Linked DNA regions of Homo sapiens: region 2 is linked to region 1. The links are contacts of gene promoters, found by promoter capture Hi-C in blood cells and fetal thymus (Javierre and others, 2016). All regions are on one chromosome and are shown on one strand. Each heading gives the region's core, a stretch centred on a gene start or on the middle of the fragment in contact. The rest is flanking DNA. Distances are from core to core; before and after follow the strand shown.

Region 1 (6,078 bases), core at 2,880-5,379:
AATCATACCCACAGCAACAAAGCAACCTTTAATCTTGTTAAATTCCCAAGATGCTTTTGTTCGGGCCCCAGTGAAACCCAATTATTTTATGATAAGCTTCATAGTCAAGGCTACAGGGGACCAAATTTGTGATGAAGGCATCAAGCCAAACTCAATTTTCGAAAGCTGCATGCTGACCAGGGAAACTCTCCTGCTGTAGTCATTTACAGGAGGCCTTAGGGCTCTCTGGTTCTTCCACAGCAGTTCATGTTTTATTTATTTATTTATTTATTTATTTATTTTTGAGACAGAGTCTCGCTCTGTCATCCAGGCTTCGGTACAGTAGCGCAATCTTGGCTCACTGCAATCGCTACCTCCCAGTTTCAAGCAATTCTCTTGCCTCAGCCTCCTGAGTAGCTTGGACTACAGCCGCACACCATGACACCTGCCTCGGCCTCCCAAAATGCTGGGATTACAGGCTTGAGCCACCGCGCCTGGCCTTATGTTTTTAGCATTTTACATTTTTCTTCTGTGGTTTTGGAAACTTCTAGGTCTCTGTGATTCATCATCTCTTTTTGTCTTGCATTAGCGACAATATATTCTGGCCAACTGATGATGGAAGGAGAGCCAGAGAGCCAATCTGCAAGTTTATAGTCAGTGCCAGATCAGATCAGTGGTAATACTTTCAATATTCTCCCTCTGCTCTGAGGGTGACTGCTGGGGTGTCTGTCTTTCACTCTGGACTTGTGTGCCCTTTTGGCCTTCTTTTTCAACCTAGTTTTTGTTTTCCTTGGCTTAAACATTTTATTTATTTTTTCCATCGATATCAAAATAACACACGCAGCTGGGTGCAGTGGGGTGCACCTGTAGTCCCAGCTACTCAGGAGGCTGATATTGGAGGATTGCTTGAGCCCAAGAGTTCAAGGTCAGCCTGAGAAACATAGGGAGACCCCCATCTCAAAATAAAACAAAATATAGTAAAATAAAACATGCTTATTGTAGAAAATATGTCAAGTACAGGGATATAAAAAAGAAAAAATCATTCATAAACTCATCCAGAGGCATTAATATATCGGCATATTCCTTCCATTTTTTTCTGTGTGTGTTTCTTATAATATTTGAGATCATATTGCACATTCAGTTAATTTACCTATTTTTCGTAACATCTATGTATGTATGTATGCATGTATGTATGTATCTATCCATCCATCCATCCGTTCAAGGTACCTTTTTCCAAAAAAAGATCTAATGTTCTTATTTAACATTATTCCTAATTATTTTCCCATGTTATTAGGATCTCTATACAAGCATCATTTCCAGAGTCAAAAAAGTATGTGCATTTTGCATTTTGATACATACTGCCAAAATAGTTTCCAGAAACATTGTCCCAATTTCAGTTCCAAATAGTTTTAGAGAGCCCCCTTTCTCATTATCCTTATCTCTTTTCTGGTCCATTTCTAATCATTTTTAAAACTCTGGTTTTACTGCAGACAAATCTTTTTTTTTTTTCATTGAGTCAATGATCTTAAACTCCAGTATATTCCAACTTCCAGCTTGTCTAAAACTTAACTTCTCTTGACTCTAGAATTTCCTTCTTCTAGGGTGAGCTAACAGACTACAGTTTGTTTTCAGTTCAGGGAGGTAGGGCAGTGAGAGGAGCTTCTCCTTGAGATTCAAATAACCAATATAATCCTAAAGACATCTTGTGAGAACTTTCTAAGAGCGGAGAGAAGAGCCTGGTATTAAAGCTTCTGGGTTTCCAATGCTCTCAGATTGCCCTCAGCCACTGCACATGAATCTCCATAGAAACTGAAAGTCACACGTGGCCCAATTGTTTCAGGGTCCTCAGAGGAGTTCTCCCTCCTCCTTCCCCTCCCCAGATGGCTTCATGCATAACCAAGTAGCTTTGGAGTCAAATATGTCAAGGCCTCTTTTCTAGCTTCTTGCTGAGCACTGTGTCACTGAAAATTCTAGTTCTTCCTTATTTTCAGTAGTTAGCAATCAGATCTCAGCAATCAGATCATTGTGGGTGTAGAAGGGGGTATCTGATAACTCTTTGGAGAACGCCCAAACTTTGGTTTTCGAAAGCTGTATCTTCCCTTTATACCTAAGTCACTTCCTGATATGGGTCTAGTCCACTGAAAGGAAACTCTATAGGAAATTTGCTCAAATGGAAATAGCAAATCATAGTGATAATTTAAAATTGCACCAATCCCCCATAACTGGATGGAAAGTTACATTAGTTCGCACCATAAGGAGTTTACAAAGAATTCCAGGGTGGGTGCGGTGGCTCACGCCTGTAATCCTAGCACTTTGGGAGGCCCAAGCAGGCAGATCACCTGAGGTTGGGAGTTCGAGACCAGCCTGACCAACATGGAGAAACCCCGTCTCTACTAGAAATACAAAATTAGCTGGGCGTGGTGGCACATGCCTGTAATCCCAGCTACTTGGGAGGCTGAGGCAGGAGAATTGTTTGAACCCGGGAGGCGGAGGTTGCGGTGAGCTGAGATCCCGAGATCGTGCCATTGCACTCCAGCCTGGGCAGCAAGAGTGAAACTCCGTGTCAAAAAAAAAAAAAAAAAATTCCAAACAAAAATATCAATAGCCATACGCAATGGAAATTTGGACTTCAACACAAGCAAGCAGTTTAAATAGTTTGAATATAAAAGGAGTCAGAATAGACAGGACAAGCCCTAAGGGACACTGTTTGGGTATAATGCTTTAGGTTGCCATGAGTATTTGCATTTTGTGGCTTATTTGGAAAGTGACATTATTTTATCAAATAACTGAGGCTCCAGAGAGGCTGGAGTCTGGGCAACTTATCCAAGGATGTCTTGATTGGGGTCACCAATCACTTTTATTCTAAATGTCATATTATTTGCTCTAGGTAGGCCCTCTGGGGGACATTGGCAGGTCTGAGGCAGAGTAAAAATTATAGCAAATACTGAGATCCAGCACTTACTATTGCCAGGCCCTGTTTTAAAAGCTTTACATGTATTTGCACATTTACTGCTCACAACCACCTTATGGGGAAGGTGCTAGGCAGGCAGGGAGGAGGAAATGGAAAGGGAAAGGAAAAGGGAAAAGAGCGGGGGAAGAAAGGAGCAAGAAAAAGTCAATGCAATTCGGCAATTATTTGTTAAGTGCTAACTGTATGTCAGGGTCTGGTAATCAACAGAACAGAGGAGGGTATAATGAAGAGGGGATATAGGTAGAGAAAAGAGGATGAGTGGGAAGAGGAGGAGGTTGGAGAGGAGGAAAGGAAAGGAGAAATAATGAAGACAAGAGAAAAGCAAGCCATGCACATGGAGGGCAATGGTAAGAGGAGAAACCTTTGCCACAACCTCAAGGGTTGGCCGCACTGTCTGGGCTGAGGCAGAGGCTGCTTTCTCCTGGCCCAGTCTTTTACCCATTGTTACCACGAGGTTGGCACAGCTTCCACACAGTCCTTTAATAAGCCAGCTCTGACCCTGGCGACATTTGGCCTGGTACAGCTCAAGGCAGGTAGCCTACACCCTGGCCTAGCCAGGCCTTTCCCTAGCTCACAAAGGTCAACTTCATAACGTGGAGCGTGAGCTTTTACCATGTTCTCAGAGAATCTGCCTCTTAGTATTTCTTTTTCTAAAGGCTTCATTGACCCATGTATCCCTATTGAGTCTTCAAGCACTATTTGACAGAAGGGCTTGTTTTTATCTGACTGCTCCCTGCAATATTACTTTTCCACTAAGTTTGCCAGAGGTACCCCTTTCTAACATTTGCTACCTGTTCGGATGGTCACCTCATGTCACATTTTTCTCTTCCTGTTCCGCCCACCCTCAGCCCTTGTCGGAAAGGACCCTTTCGGCCTCTCTAATCACCAGAAGGGACTGCCAGGGCCTTGTGCTGATGACACTCCCACCCTCCGTCAGCCTCCTCCACTAGCTGATAAATGGCACCAGCCATGCTGTCTCTCTGGTTTTTAGGGGTCCCAAGCAAGGTACATTGCTGCTGCTGCCCAGCCCCTGCCATACCCCAGACCCACCTCAGTCCTGACTTAATGCAGGTAGCTTCCCAGATGCATTGAGATGCCAGGACTTGGAAGGTGGGACTCGATCGCAGCAGACACTGGCCCTGGAGACATATTCTTACAGTCCAGAGAGGAAGGACAGTCTGAGCAAACCCCACCCTTTCACAGCCACTCAGTTCCCTTTTTTTGCTTCCTGACCTAAACCAATGTCTTTTTTTCTTCTCAGCAGCATGCTATCTGGTTCCCTGCTGCCGTCCCTATTCCACCCCCTCAACTGTCCCCGCCCTTCATTTGCTTGGGACCTCTGACACTACTATCTTGAGTCTATCTTTGAAAGAACCTTTCTCAACATGACTGGGGCCACTGAGACTCTAGATGGGGCTGGCCTGAGCAGACAGGTCATCAAGCTATCCTCCCAGAGGTAAAGGGACAACATACCTAAAGTACTATGAAGACAGTCAGCACAGGGAGAGGGGCTTACAGGAAAGAGGAGAGATGCTGGGGGCTGGCAGACACAGAGCAAAGAGACTGGCCAGGAAGAGCGTTTTTCGAGTCTCCTGTCCTCCGGGGCAGAGGAGTCTCAGGGACACACAGTTGAACTTGATAGTGAAGGGACCCCAAAGGACAAAACAAGACAGAGGTAGAGACAAGACTTCCCCGTGCTGAGTCATTTTCTAAGAAAGCATTTTTCCCCTACAGATAAAAATGTCGGAATATAAGCCCACAGAAATACTTGTGCCCTTCCCCATTTTCTGTGGATGTTGACTTTCTCCATTTAAGATTTGGCCTCAGGGATTAACTCTCAATGTCCACCTTTCTCTTGAGTCCTGTAAACCGGTAAAGCAGACTAGGTATGTCACTTGAAGCCTGGAGGTTTTCTCAGGGGCCCCCTACATTATGCTCCAACTGCAATGATTCCCCCAGGGATTCTCCTAGGAAATGCAGCCAGTATTGAATGCAGACCATGATGGTGGAGCCCCTGCTGACTGATCTGCCTGCCCACCTTGACACCTCGGGCACTGCCATATTTCCTTGCCCCAAGGCACTGTATCCTAATGTAGAAACAGATCACAGGTCCCACTACAATTTCATCCGAAGTTTTAAGTCAACAGGACCTTATTTTTTTTTCTTTATTTTGTCTAAAAAACAAACAAACAAGCAAACAAAAAAAATGGGGTATATGTGCAGAAGGTGCAAGTTTGTTACATAGGTATATGTGTGACATGGTGATTTGCTGCACCTATTGACCCATCCTCTAAGATCCCTCCCCTCACCCCCAAGCCCCAACAGGCCCTGGGACCTTTTTTTTTTTTTTTTTTTTTTGAGACAGGGTCTTGCTCTGAAGCCCAGGTTGGAGTGCAGTGGCGTGATCATGGCTCACTGCAGCCTCCACCTCCTGGGCTCAAGTGATCCTCTCACCTCAGTCACCCTAGTACCTGGGACTATAGGCACACATCACTGTGCTGGGCTAATTTTTCTACTTTTTGTAGAGATGGGGTTTCACTATGTTGCCCAGGCTGGTCTCAAACTCCTGGGCTCAAGCGATACTCCTGCCTTGGCCTCCCAAAATGCAGGGATTACAGGAGTGAGCCACCTCTCCCAGCCATCAACAGGACTTTAAATAAAAACATTTAAAGTATTTGTAGACTGATGATAGAGTGGTTGATACTCACATTTGCACAAGACAGATGGACAGCATGTGTTGTATGATTGCCTTACTTTATTGACAACGTCTATCCTTTCGCTAGTCACCCCCAATAGCTGTTCCACTCACCTGCCTGAGGGTTGGCCACAGGCATTCATCTTCCCTCCTCTTTTCTTCAGTTTTTTTTTTTTTTGAGACGGAGTCTTGCCCTGTCGCCCAGGCTGGAGTGCAGTGGCATGATCTCGGCTCACTGCAAGCTCCACCTCCCGGGTTCACGCCATTGTCCTGCCTCAGTCTCCTGAGTAGTTGGGACTACAGGTGCCTGCCACCACGCCTGGCTAATTTTTTGTATTTTTAGTAGAGACGGGGTTTCACCATGTTAGCCAGGATGGTCTCGATCTCCTGACCTCGTGATCCACCCGCCTCAGCTTCCCAAAGTGCTGGGATT
Region 2 (6,036 bases), core at 1,571-4,070, 260 kb after region 1:
AGTTTTGTTGGATTAAATTGTGTAGGTGACATGTCATACCTGTTAAGAGATACCTGAAGCATTGCTGCTTTACATTGCTTCCAGACATATAGTATAGAGTCTAACGAAGTTTTCTGTATCTCAGCATAGCAAAGGCAGGGAAGCAACACAGAAAGTCTTGATCATTCAAGGTCGACACAAGCAAAATAGAGAGCTACAATATTTGAAGAGGTCCTGAGGAAGGAATGAAAATGGTGAATTATGTAGAGCAGTATTACTAGAATCATGTGGACCTCCTCCAACAACTCTAAGGTGCTTTGTAAGCATCTTTGATCTTAGACACACCACGGAAAATGCAGCAGATCCTAAATTGATTCCATTTCAGCACAACAATGGGATGAGAAGACAAAATATAAATTATGAGTATTGCTATAGAAAATAAAAGCTGGATGTTTTATACACTTGGGTTTGTGGACTGTGATTTATTCCAATTACACATATGTGTTAGCTATGGCATTCTGCAGGATGTATGATTACCAGACATTTATATTATCCTCTTTGCCTAGTAATTATACTTTTCCTTATTTCCTCTCAAATTTTACTTCCTTAGGGAAGTTTTCTTTGTTCCCTTTTTAGCCCCTCAGAGTATGTCTTGATCTGCAGCAATATACTCATATACATACCTGTGTTCCATTCCTTCTTTGTATTTATGTGGAATTATAATTATCCATACACTCATGTGATTATTTGATTAATGTATATACCCCACTAATCTGTGAGCTTCATGAATACAAAGACCTAGTCTGTTTTTCCTACCATTGTATTCTCAATGCCTTGCATAGGTGCTCAATAGAGACTTATTAAGTGAATGAATGAATACAATACATTTCTGCGTTGTTTGACATTTTTACAATGACTATATTAGTTTTACTATTAAAAAATGAAAATCATCCTATTTAGAACAAATATAAACATAGACCTTCTGGGCCAGTGGTTTTTAATATATTTAGGGTTATACTTCCCATTAAAAACATGTTAATAATTATAGCTTATAGCCGCTCACCTGGAAAACTTATATGCACCTTCCCCTCACTCCCAATACACAACCTTGTATACAATTTCCAGGAGTTTATAGACTTATCCAGTTGAGAACACCTGGTCTAGGTTAATCAGTATGGTCAGTAGGTGAGAGTTTCTTGGACACTGTCCTTAGCCTGGCTGAAGGGCCACTAGGGAGGAAGGTGACTGAAAGGCAGCAAAGCTAGGTTCCCTAGATTCCCTGGAGATGCAGATTTTGGGCATGAAAGGCCCACCAGACTGCACTGCTCATGATAGGTGGGAGGCAGCAGATAGGGTCCAGGGAGGCTTCCACTCAGACACTGTGAATAAGGGCAGAGAGCAGGGAGATGGCTAGGGACACTCCCCCAGCAATCACTTCTCCAGGCCTCATGGACACCCTCAGCTGCAAGGGTCTAGAAGGCATGAGTTCTGGTTTCCAGTGGCAGGAACAGTGCTCCCTTCTCTGCTGGGGCTGGGTTACCCCTGTGGAAATTTAGGAGAGGGAGGAGGGAAGGATCCAAAAGCATTTACTCAGGTCACCACCTTGGTCATCTGTCCAGGTATATTTTTGGAGTGAGCAAGAGTCAGGTGCCCATATGCAGGAAATGAGACGTTCTGAAATATGAGAGGGGATGGGGGCAGCACCTTCCCCCTATCTTGACTGGGCAGAAAGGATAGGACCATCTCTGCATTCCTCATACCTTGCAGCATCAATCTCACAGCTCTTCCCTTTGCTCAGAGTTAAATTTCATTGTTTAGAAGGATTCAGTCTAATCCTTCTAAATACCTTATCAAAAACCTTACCAATCACCTTATCAAATACCTTAGCATGTTTATAAACTCTTCTTGTGCAGAAAAGCAATACATTCATAAAACGTAATTGTGCTAAGGCACTTCCTCCCTCTTAAATTGGACTTTTTTTTTTTTTTTTTTTTTTTTTTTTTTTTTTTTTAGACTGAGTCTCCCTCACTCTTACCCAGGCTAGAGTACAGTGGTGCCATTTTGGCTCACTGCAAACTCCACCTCCTAGGTTCAAGCGATTCTCCTGCCTCAGCCTAATGAGTAGCTGGGATTACAGGTGTGCACTGCTATCCCCGGATAATTTTTGTATATTTACTAGAGACAGGGTTTCGCCATGTGGGCCAGGCTGCTCTCGAACTCCTGGCCTCAAGTGATCCACCTGCCTTGGCCTTCCAAAGTGCTGGGATTACAGGTGTGAGTTACCGCACCTGGCCAGAAATATTTTTTATGATAGATTTTTCCCAGATTAATTCCTCATTAATTTTTCAGTGACCATAACTTCATTTTTTTTCTGATTGTAAAAATGATTGCATACTGACGCTTTTTTTTTTTTGATGGAGTCTCTCGCTCTGTCACCTAGGCTGGAGTGAATTGGCACGATCTAGGCTTACGGCAACCTCCGCCTCCAGGGTTCAAGCGATTCTCCTGCCTCAGCCTCCTGAGTAGCTGGGACTACAGGCGTGTGCCACCCCGCCCAGCTAATTTTTATATTTTTAGTAGAGGTGGAGTTTCACCATGCTAGCCAGGCTGGTCTTGAACTCCTGACTTCAGGTGATCTGCCCGCCTTGGCCTCCCAAAGTGTTGAGACTACAGGCATGAGCCACCGCGCCTGGCCACTGATGCTTATTTTTTAAGGCGGTAATAGTACATGAGGAAGTGAAAATATGAGGAAGTACAAATCTCATGTTCATTCCCTGCCTCTGTTACTGACATGCTGTCCATTTTCTAATTCTAATCCCTGCCTGCCTCTCCGCCCTCACGTTTTGGGGGATGGACACAGTTGCAGGGGAAATGGAAGACATTACTGATCGTGGACATCGAGGGTGGAGAGAGAAACTTGGGCATCAAACTAGCCCTGAGAACTGTACCAATGAGGTTGAAAACATTTGTAAACCATTGCCTAGTAAAAGCAGTCACTGAGATCAGCGTTTTGGATGATTAATATCTCTTAAAAACATTTTATAATTCCCTCAACAAAGCTCTTGCAAACTGTGGTAGAGGCTGTTAGTGCTCTCCAATATCCATGTTTTCTGCCCACTCCTTGGAATCCAGCTAGATTGGTCAATAGTGGCCTAGCTATAGTGGTCAACGTCCCCTATGATTGGGTGCAACCATGAGACTGAGTTCTGGCCAATGGATTGTGGCAGGAGTGATGTGTTCCAGATTTTGCCTCATGAAACTTCCTCATGCTTGACTTGTGCTCTCTCTTTTCCTATCTACCCGCTGAATGGAGATAACTTTGAGTACCTAGAGAAGGATGGAGCTACAAGATGGAATGAGCCTGGGACCCTGAATGGCCACGTGTAGCAGAGCCTCTCTGCTGACCTGGAACATTAACCTCAGACTCTTTTGGTAATGAAAATATATTTTTTAAGTCATACAATTTTTGAGTTTTTCATTACAGCAGTTTAGACTTTTATACTACTACAACATTAATGGATTTCTGTCCTTCCTTTTTTTTTGGACCTTAGGTGATGAGGATTATACTAACCATATTCTTCCCTTCGTAGCATACCATCTGCATTGGTCTAATCAAAACCCATTTTCTTTCCTTTATTAATTCATTTACTACTTTATTTGTTTCCTTTCTTCTCTATTCTTTACTTCCATCTCCTCCCCAAAGGCAACCTTCTAATTTATTTGATGTGTATGTTTGTTTGAGTTATTTTAAAACTTACATTACTTTGTATGCATGGATTTAGATAGTAGTATGGTGCTGTGGATCTTATTCTGGCTTTTTTCCCCACTCAGTAATATTTTTTTAAAGATCCATCTATGTCACTCTGTGTACATGGTCTGTAGTTTCACACTGTTGCATAATGTACCATGGTATTCATCCACTCCAATTTACTTCCTCATTTTCCAGGAAATAAAATCTATACTGCTTCCAACTTTCTGTTACCTCATACATTGTGATGAACGTCCTCATGCATGTCCCCTTATGGACCTACATGAAAAGTGTTCTGGAATATATATAAAATGAATGGAATTGTTGAGTCATAGGGCATATGTATAATTCATTTATGTATGTCAGATTGCTCTTTGGAATAGCAGCTCCAGTCTAAACTCTAATCAGCTGTGTGCATTAGAATTCCTCTATCTTTGTACCCTCACTAACAATCGGCAGGTCCCAGCTTTAAAATTTTTGCCAGCCAAATAGGTATAAACGGATTTATAACTGAATTTTAATTAGCAATTAACTGGTTAATAATGAGTTTGAACATCTCTTCATTTATTTCTGAGCATTTTGGTTTTCATCTCCTCTGGGTATATTTGTCATGTTTTGTCAGTTTATTTTATTTTACTTTATTTTACTTTTTGAGATAGGGTCTCACTCTGTCACCCAGGCTGGAGTGCAGTGGCACAAACATGGCTCACTGCAGTCTTGACCTCCTGGGCTCAAGCGATTCTTCTGCCTAGCTGCTCCAAGTAGCTGGAACCAGAGGCATGCACCATCACATTCAGCTAATTTTTTAAAATAGGTTTTTTTTTTTTTTTTTTTTTTTTTGTAGAAACAAGATCTTGCCATGTTGCCTAAGCTGGTCTTCAACTCCTGGCCTCAAGCTATCCTTCTGCCTTGGCCTCCCAAAGCACTGGCATTACAGGCAGGAGCCACCTCATCCGTCCGTCCTCTTTTGTCACTTTAAGGCAGTGTATTCCTGTCTTTTTCTTTTGGATTTGCAGGAGTACTTTGTATATGCTAGCTATTAATCCTTTGTTAAAGGTATTGTAAATAACTTTTCTCTGTCATCTATTAACTTTGTTTATGGTGTCTCTCATTGAATAGAAATTCTTATTTTTTATGTAATCAAATCTATTAATCTTTTGTGTCTTATGGCATCTACTTCTGAGGTTTTGTTTAAGAAATTGTTATCTAATTCTAGGCCACAAAGATTTTTTCCTATATCATCATCTATTAACTTCATAATTTTAGCTTTCAAATTTATTTTATTCTCTGTAGTCTAGATTTATACATGGTGCTAAGGAGGGTTCCAGCTTTATTTTTCTTCAAATAGTGAACTAGTCTTTCCAATAACATGTATTATACCGTCCATCCTTTCTCCATTGATTTGTGCTGCCTATTTTTTCTGTATCTACTTAAGTCTGTCTCTAAACGTTTCCATTTATGTATTTATCTCTTCCATATTACTTTTGTTACTATGATACGGCAGGGAGAGCTGGTACTCACCAAATGATTTTTGTACTTACTTTCCTAGCTTGCCTTGCAGTTAGATTGAGGTCATATGACTATCTGGACTACACACTACAAGCAAAGTAATGTTTATTATTTCTGGGTCAAGGTTATTTAAAACTGGTGTAAAAGGCTGTGTGTTTAGATGGAGGAACCACAAGATGGAAGAAGCCTTAGGTTCCTGAGTAACTGCATGGAAGACTGGAGAGCTGCCTAATCATTAAATTTTACGTAAATAGGAAATAAACCTTTGTTTACTTCACTGAGGTTTTGAGGTTCATTTGTTACTTCAGTATAGCATATTGTTACCCTGACTGACACATACAGTGTATCTTACTATCCAGTAGGGTAAGTCTCCACTCTATCCTTTGTTTCCAAATTGATGTAGCTCTTGTTGGGTCTTTATATTTCCATATAGTGTTAGAATGTATCAATTAAGCTTTGATAGATTTTTTAAAATGTTAAGCCAGCTCTGCGTTACCATTCTGATCATGACTTTTTAAAATACATTGCTGGATTCTACTTGCTGGTATTTTGTTTAAGATTTTCACATTTATATTTTGAGACTTGTTTGAAATTTCATTTTTTATACTGATCTTGTCAGTTTTAATATAAAAGATATTTGGCTCATAAAATGCATTGAACAACATTACTTATTTCTAGGCTATAGAAGAGCTTGTATAAGATTGGACTTTATCTGTTACATCTGGGTCTATTTTTCTGAGGAGAGGGGCAGGGAACTTTTAAACTACTGATTTAATTGTTTTCCGTGGTTATAGGACCCT

The links. The method cuts DNA at HindIII sites, captures the fragments that hold promoters and counts their contacts. A CHiCAGO score of 5 or more calls a contact.
Region 2: a contact is called between a fragment that was not itself captured here and the fragment with the promoter of BTK in region 1, in 2 of 17 cell types (M0 macrophages and M1 macrophages). The highest score is 6.9, in M0 macrophages.

Annotation. Positions count from the first base shown.
Region 1 is chrX:101,382,062-101,388,139 of GRCh38, forward strand. It overlaps BTK (Bruton tyrosine kinase), which reads right to left and starts at 4,130. Exons shown (of 19, transcript NM_000061.3): 1 at 4,001-4,130. RefSeq lists an enhancer at 3,397-3,616. The HindIII fragment of the contact is 7,609 bases long and covers 2,964-6,078 here.
Region 2 is chrX:101,638,420-101,644,455 of GRCh38, forward strand. No RefSeq gene overlaps it. Among named protein-coding and RNA genes, the nearest start is that of ARMCX3, 18 kb to the left of the region's middle. The HindIII fragment of the contact is 5,736 bases long and covers 1-5,688 here.